Linked DNA regions of Homo sapiens: region 2 is linked to region 1. Evidence: promoter capture Hi-C in 16 types of primary human blood cells and fetal thymus (Javierre and others, 2016). All regions are on one chromosome and are shown on one strand. The core of a region is centred on a gene start or on the middle of the fragment in contact, and the rest is flanking DNA. Distances in the headings are between cores, read along the strand shown. Region 1 holds the start of ZIC5 (Zic family zinc finger 5). Region 2 overlaps GGACT (gamma-glutamylamine cyclotransferase).

Region 1 (3,915 bases), core at 804-3,303:
CTCTTTCCATCGCCCTCCCAGACTTCCCAGGGCCGGGCGGGTGGGGACTGCCGACCGTCCTGGGCGCCTTCCTGCTCCAGCTGCTGCTGCGTCTGCTCCGAGGTGGCGGCGGCGGCGGCTGGCGCGCGTTGCGGGTCCCGGCCGAGGGGCTGCGGGCGCGCTGGAGACTCCGCCGTGTGGGAACCCAACGCGGGGCCTGTGTGTGCTATCGAATTACTTATTCATAGAAAAAAAAAAGGGGGGGAGAGAAAAAAAAAGAAGTCACATGTCCGGGTTATACGTATGCGAAGAGAAGCAGCAGAAGGAGAAAAAAATTAAGGCGAGCAGGAGGAGGAGGAGAAGCAGCGGCGGAAGCGGCGGCGGCGCAGGAGCTGGTGGCGGCGGCGGCGGCGCGGCCGGGGACAGACACCCACCTGTATGAGTACGCTTGTGGATCTTGAGGTTCTCGGAGCGCGCGAAGACCTTGCCGCAGCCGGGGAAAGGGCAGGGAAAGGGCTTCTCGCCGGTGTGCACGCGGATGTGGTTGATGAGCTTGTATTTGGCCTTGAAGGGCTTGCCCTCGCGCGGACAGTCCTCCCAGAAGCAGACGTGGCTGCTCTGCTCGGGGCCTCCCACGTGCTCCACCGTGACGTGATTCACCAGCTCGTGCATGGTGCCGAAAGTTTTGGAGCAGGGCTTGGCGCCGCCGGCCGGGGGCGGTGGCGGCGGCGGCGGCGGCGGCGGCGGCGGCGGCGGCAGCCCGGCCAGCTCGTCGGGGTCGATCCACTTGCAGATGAGCTCCTGCTTGATTGGCTGCCGCATGTAGCGCAGGAAGGCCCCAGCCGCCCCTGGGAGGTGGGGGTGGTGCTGGTGCGGGTGCTGCGCGGGCGCCGGCGGCGGCGGCGGCGCCGGGGGCGGCGCGTGGTGCTGCAGGTGGGGCCCGGGCCCGGCCGCTGCTGCGGCCGCCGCAGCCGCCAGGTTCAGGTTTAAGTTCACGGCTCCGTAGCCGTGCAGGGCGGCCGCCGCTGCGGCCGCAACCGCCCCGTAGTGCGCGTCCCCAGAGCGCGGCGCGAAGGGCGGTTCGGCGCGGCCGTACAGCTCAGCCGCCGCGGCTGCCGCTGCCGCCGCCAGCCCCAGGCGCATCTGGCCGTTGAGCGGGTGCGGGTGGCCGCCTGGGGCCCCCGGCGTGTCGTGCAGCGCGGGGAAGAGCGCCGGGCCGCCGCTGCCGTCCGGGCCCGCGTAGGTGCCGCTGGCGGAGATGAACATGCCGGCCGAGTGGGGAGGCGGGGCCGGGTGCTGGGGGGAGCCGGTGCCGGACCGCTGCTCCCCTCCGAGCGGGGCCCCGTGCATGGCCGCCGCGGGGGCCGTGGCGGAAAGGTCCCTCCGGAGGACGAAGTCCCTGCTGTGGCCTTTGCCGCTGCTGCCGCCGCCGCCACTGTTGGTGGTGGTGTAGCCCGAGAGGGCAGGAGGAGGAGGAGGCGGGGGAGGGGGAGGGGGTGAAGGGGTGGGAGGAAGAGGAGGGGCTGGGGGCGGGGGCGCGGAGGGCTGCGCGCCACTGCTGCCCCCGCCGCAGGGGTAGCTGCCCGCGCCGGGGTGCGCGACCAAGGCTGCAGCACGGGCGGCGGCTGCCGGAGCCTCCGGGTGTGCCGGGAACGCCTGGGAGGGAGGGCTGAGGCCCAGCGTGCTCGCCTGGGCCATGTGCTCGGGTCCGAGCGGAGTGGTGGCCACGCCGGGGTCAGCGCCCAGGTCCCGCAGGCGGAGGTGCGCGACGGCGGCCCGGAGTTGGGAGTGGGCGGGCGGGCCGGCCAGCGCCGGGAAGCCTGTCATATTCTGAAGCGGCTGGACCTGAGCCGTTGCCAAATCCGCTAATCTCAGCGCTGGCGGGTTCCTCTTGCTCAAAGGGGGCTCCATCAGAACTACACAATCAGGCCCATAGACCCTCACTGGGGGGACTTTATTCCCTCTGCCCGCCTTCAAAAACATGTATGTATTGGGCGCTCTTTAACTTCTTTTGTCCTGGCCTCTTAACTCTGCTTATTCCTGTTCCCACTCTATCCTCCAGCGATTGGCAGAGTGAACACCACATTTGAGCTGCACAGTGGGACCGAGATTTTGGAAATGGCACGGGTGGGATTGGAGGGAGCCGCGTGATTGGCAGTAGCCTCGGCTGCTCGATTGGCTCCCGTTCAGGCCCTCGACCCAGCGGGGATTCGCCCCCGTGCTTGCGGCCGCCTGCGCTTTCGCTTCGCGCCCCCTCCTCCGCTGGAGCCACACGTCCCCGCCTCCCCGGGGATGCCCAAGTTGCACTTGCAGAAAGTTTGAGCCTGGCCTGCGCGCGCAGCGCCCCGCTCTTCCTTGACGCACCTCGCGGAGCGCGCGCCGGCACGCGGGCAGAGGGCGCGGGGTGGTGAGGGGCTGAGGACCCCCGAGGGGCAGTCCCAGTTTCAAAAACCTTGGCCTCACTTCTCTGTGTGCCTTCTGGCACCCAAGTACTTTCTGCCTCTACCTCCACCTCTCTTGTGGGGTGGAAGAGCCCTGGGCTGCTGTTTGGGAGAGAAGGGTGAATAGCCCGTCCTACCTGTAGTGGTGATGCTAGAAACTTCTTGTTTGGACACCCAACCTGCCTAGCGCTCACCTAGGGCGCATAGACAGTAGACGGAGTGAAGAAGATAAAGTCTATTGGTTGCAAGACAACTTGAGTGATTTGGCTCCGCGAAACACCAGGTGAAGTCAAAATAAGTCTTTCCCCCAAAGGAACCGTTTTACCTCGACTTTTTATCTCATGGAGAGTCCTTTTCAACATGGTTCAAAGGAGTTGGATGGAAGTGTAATCTCACTACTCATCGGTTCTAGATCTGCCACTTCCAATTAGATCTACAGTAGGGGCGGGGGAGAGGAGATCGGGCAGCGATTCTAACTTTTGCCTTTCGGAGATACAGTGGCGGGGCAGGCCAAACGGCATCTCTGCAGAGAGAAGCCGCTAAATAAGCACCGTCCTTTAAGTAGAATTTCTCCTTCCGGTCCAGATCCCAGTCCACAGTCCACATGTATGCCTCAGTTTCTTTGACTGATCCACAATTAGAACTGATCCAATAAAATATTATTTTGAAATCAAGAAATATCTTTGCTTTTTATTTACTGATAGAATAATCTTTCACCTTTTTATCGTTTTCTCATAAACCAGTCTACCTCTAAGATGTCTTATTTGAAAACCATAAAAACTGGCTTTTAAAAAAGCGAATCCCATCCCTTTCCAGAGGTTTGGTATCAAATCGATTTTTTAAAAATAGAAATTCCCTGCATCACTTTTTGGTGGGCGGAGAAATGTGGGACCCTCCCCCCAAATTAAGGATTTTACTGCCCCAAAAGTGTCCTTTTCAGATTTTAAAAGAAAGCATTTTTGAAATTTGTGATGTTACAAAATGCTCAAATATTAAAGCCAGGATTTTAAAATTTGTATTTTGCTGTCATCCGTAACATTACTTGTAAAAAAAAAAAAAGTGATAATGATTAGAATGTGATCTTTTTCTTTGGGGATACAATAAAATATGTTTCCAACTTAATTCATTTGCAGTCCAAGTAAAAGTAGACTGCACAAAGCCGTTATTGGGGAGATGGCCGTGGGAAGTAATCAGAAATATTCTGAAAAGAGTTGATTCGATAGTGCCATTCACATTGGTGTGAACGATGTTTAACAGGGGGCTTCGGTATGAGACTTAGGAATGTCATTTCTTTTATAAAACTGACAAGCAAACAAAGACAATGCTACCATCAAATTTCAAATGGACTTTTTCTTTAAGTTGCAATGAAGTTCAAATATGGGGAATTAAAGGCATGTGTGGAAACACAACGAAAAAATTTTAATAAACAGCAGTAACAAAATCTTCATCTCACTTTGGAAACGACGAGTCCTTTCACAATTTTTATGTCAAAGAC
Region 2 (2,771 bases), core at 110-2,609, 560 kb after region 1:
GGACTTCTGTTTTCTTCTCAGCAAACAAGAGCTGCTCTGGGGGGTTCTAGGCCTCATTTTGCTCAAGAGGCACGTCTGCTGCCTCTTGGTTCTATCACCAGCCTGTGCAACAACAGTATTCCCCAGATTTCAGGCACATTGCACTAGGAAAGGTGTGGCCGTGGGAAAAACACAAGGCTAGCCAGATACGTGCGCCCTGTGGGCCTGGCCATGTGATAGCCCTGGGACACCCTTCCCAGTGTGGGGACACAGATTAGACCTGGGGGGCATGCTGGGATAGGAAAGTTGAGATGTGAATTAAGGAGAACCTGGGGTAGGACGGTACTGAGGAAGAGAAGAGGCAAGTGCTCAGGCCTAAAATTGCCAGGACTCGGCTGCTGGGGTGTACGTGAAAATGACAAAAGGCACCAGCTGAGAGCAGCGCTGGTGTCTGGAGAGGGCACTGGATGGAAGCAGCTGTCTACAACAGCGGGCAAGGAGCTATCCCAAAAGACGAGCACCTGGGGGGCGATGATGGTTTGGATCCTGCTGTGCAGCTGCCTTGGGGACTCAGCATTTGGAAGGATTCATGTCCCTCCCCACACCTGCATCCCAGCCCCCAGCGAGACCCATCAGCACTTCCCCTGCCACGTCTCCCAACCTGCTCTCCTCCTCCAATGCCTGCCTGCATCCCTGTTGTCTTTGTTCCCCTGGATCCTGCCCCCAGTGCACCACCCAGAGGGTCCTTGTCAATCTCCTGCTGCAGACTTAACTCTCCCACCTCATCTCCTGCACCCTCTCTCCCCTCATCCAGGTGGCTCCTGCCCCGACCAGCGCCTGACCTGGAGGGTGCAGGAGTAGTAGGCAGGGCCTACTCAGTCTGTCACATCACTCTGTCTGGTTGTCGTTATAGCACACGTGCTCTCTAAATCACTGGTCTTGTTTGTTGCTGGAACATGAAGGGCCAGAAGAGAACTTGGAAACTGTTTGGTCCAGCACCTGCAGGTGAGGAAGCCGAGTCCCAGGCTGGTGGCGATCTAGGACCAGCCAGCCGGGCAGGGCCGTAGTCACACTGCAGACCAGCTCTCCACTGCCAGGTGCCTGCCTGGCTTTCCCTGATGCAGTTTTTTAAAATGGCATGTGTCCAAAATGTCAATAGATTGCTTTGTAAGAAAAATGAAGTTTCCTACCCCTTTCCACTCCCTGGAGGCAACACTTTTAAGGCTTTTAACTGTTGTGTTCAGCATTTATCTCCATATTGTTACTTACGCTGCTACTTCTTGATGTCTTAAATCATATCTTGCCCTTCTACTCAAAAAGTGGGTGAGCATAGTGGTTCTAAAGCACAGACTTTAACTGTGTGACTTTAGGCAGATCATATAACCTCTCTGTGCCTCAGCTTCCTCAACTGTAAACTGAAGTCACAGTAGCAGCCTGCCTCAGAGACCGCGGTGGGTACCAACACACGTGGTCCTGTGTGATCTGCTGACATGTAGCGTGTGCCGCTGCTGTCATCACTGTAGAAGCCTGACCCTTGGCTCTCCTACCACATCCCGCCATCCTCCCAACAGACTCATCATAGTTTTGGGTCAGACCCAGATCTATTTCGGCATTAGAACCATGCAAACACGGCTCTTGGCTAAGACACAGAGCATACTATGATTACATTTCCTTTCTTGGACAACTTTATGTTTTCCTTGAAATTAAAAATTGCTTCAAGTTTGTTTTTTTTGTTTGTTTTGCATTTCGCTTAGTTTCTAGGATTGTAATTCAGCCTCGCAGTTTCTGAGAGCATGGCCAGAACCCGGGTCCTGACCATCCGCTGGAAGGTCCTCCCTGCCAGCTCTAGTCTGGGCTCTCTGTGTCGCTGCCATCCAGGCCACCCTCATTCCTGTCCCGTCCTCTGGCTGGGATGTTGGCCACATTTTGCTGAAGTGTATTCTCTCCCACTTTTGGTTAATAACATGGCTGCGTAGAGGATTCTAGAAATCATTTCCCTCAGAACTTTAAAGACATTTCTTCATTGTCTTCTAACTTTCCGAGTTCTTGCAGAGAAGTCAGTGTGCTGTGATCCAGGTCCCCTGTGTGTGTGACTCGAGCTCTTCCCTGGAGGCTCTTAAGGGCTTCCTTTTATCCCTCAGATTCTAGAATTTTCTGATGATGTAGACTCTGTTTTCATTGATTGTGCTGGAATTTTGATCTGAATGCTCCTTATCCTGGATCACGGGGGCATTTTCTTACCCCTCCTTCCTCTCTGTTCTCTTTCTGGCTCTCCCAATATTCCGGCAGTGGAGGTCCTGACTTCAGCCTCCAATGTTTTTATATTTTCTCCTTTCCTCCAGGTCTATATTATATTCTGCTTTATCTTGCATTTCTTCTATTAAAAATTTTTTTGCCATGATATTTATTTCCAATATATTTTTCTTGTTGTGTGTTTTTTTTTTCAACTTCTTGTTCATTCACAGGCTCAATATATATATATTTTTTAAGTTTTCTTCATTCCCTTCATTGCCTCCATTTCTCCTAACTCCCTCTTTTCTCTCTGTTTTGGTATCTGTGTTTCAAGAGATTTTCTTCACATGTGATCTTGGCTGGGAAAGCTGAGCCACTCTTTGGAAGTGAGGCTGAGCTGTCAGGTGGCAGGCCTCACACGGGACTCTGGGGAGCGGCGCTGGGAGCTCTGCACTTTCCCCCAATGCTTGTTTTCAGGGTGCCACCTCACCACCACTCAGCTAGGCCTGTGTCCCCAGCGGAGGTGTTCTTGTCAGGCTCTCCAGAAAGGAACCCGCCAT

The links. The method cuts DNA at HindIII sites, captures the fragments that hold promoters and counts their contacts. A CHiCAGO score of 5 or more calls a contact.
Region 2: a fragment that was not itself captured here is called in contact with the fragment with the promoter of ZIC5 in region 1 in 1 of 17 cell types (M2 macrophages); the score reaches 6.0 in M2 macrophages.

The regions. Positions count from the first base shown.
Region 1 is chr13:99,969,714-99,973,628 of GRCh38, forward strand. It overlaps ZIC5 (Zic family zinc finger 5), which reads right to left and starts at 2,054. Exons shown (of 2, transcript NM_033132.5): 1 at 414-2,054. The coding sequence starts at 1,890. The HindIII fragment of the contact is 20,418 bases long and covers 1-3,915 here.
Region 2 is chr13:100,534,095-100,536,865 of GRCh38, forward strand. All of the region lies in intron 2 of GGACT (gamma-glutamylamine cyclotransferase), which reads right to left. Among named protein-coding and RNA genes, the nearest start is that of GGACT, 53 kb to the right of the region's middle. The HindIII fragment of the contact is 7,689 bases long and covers 1-2,771 here.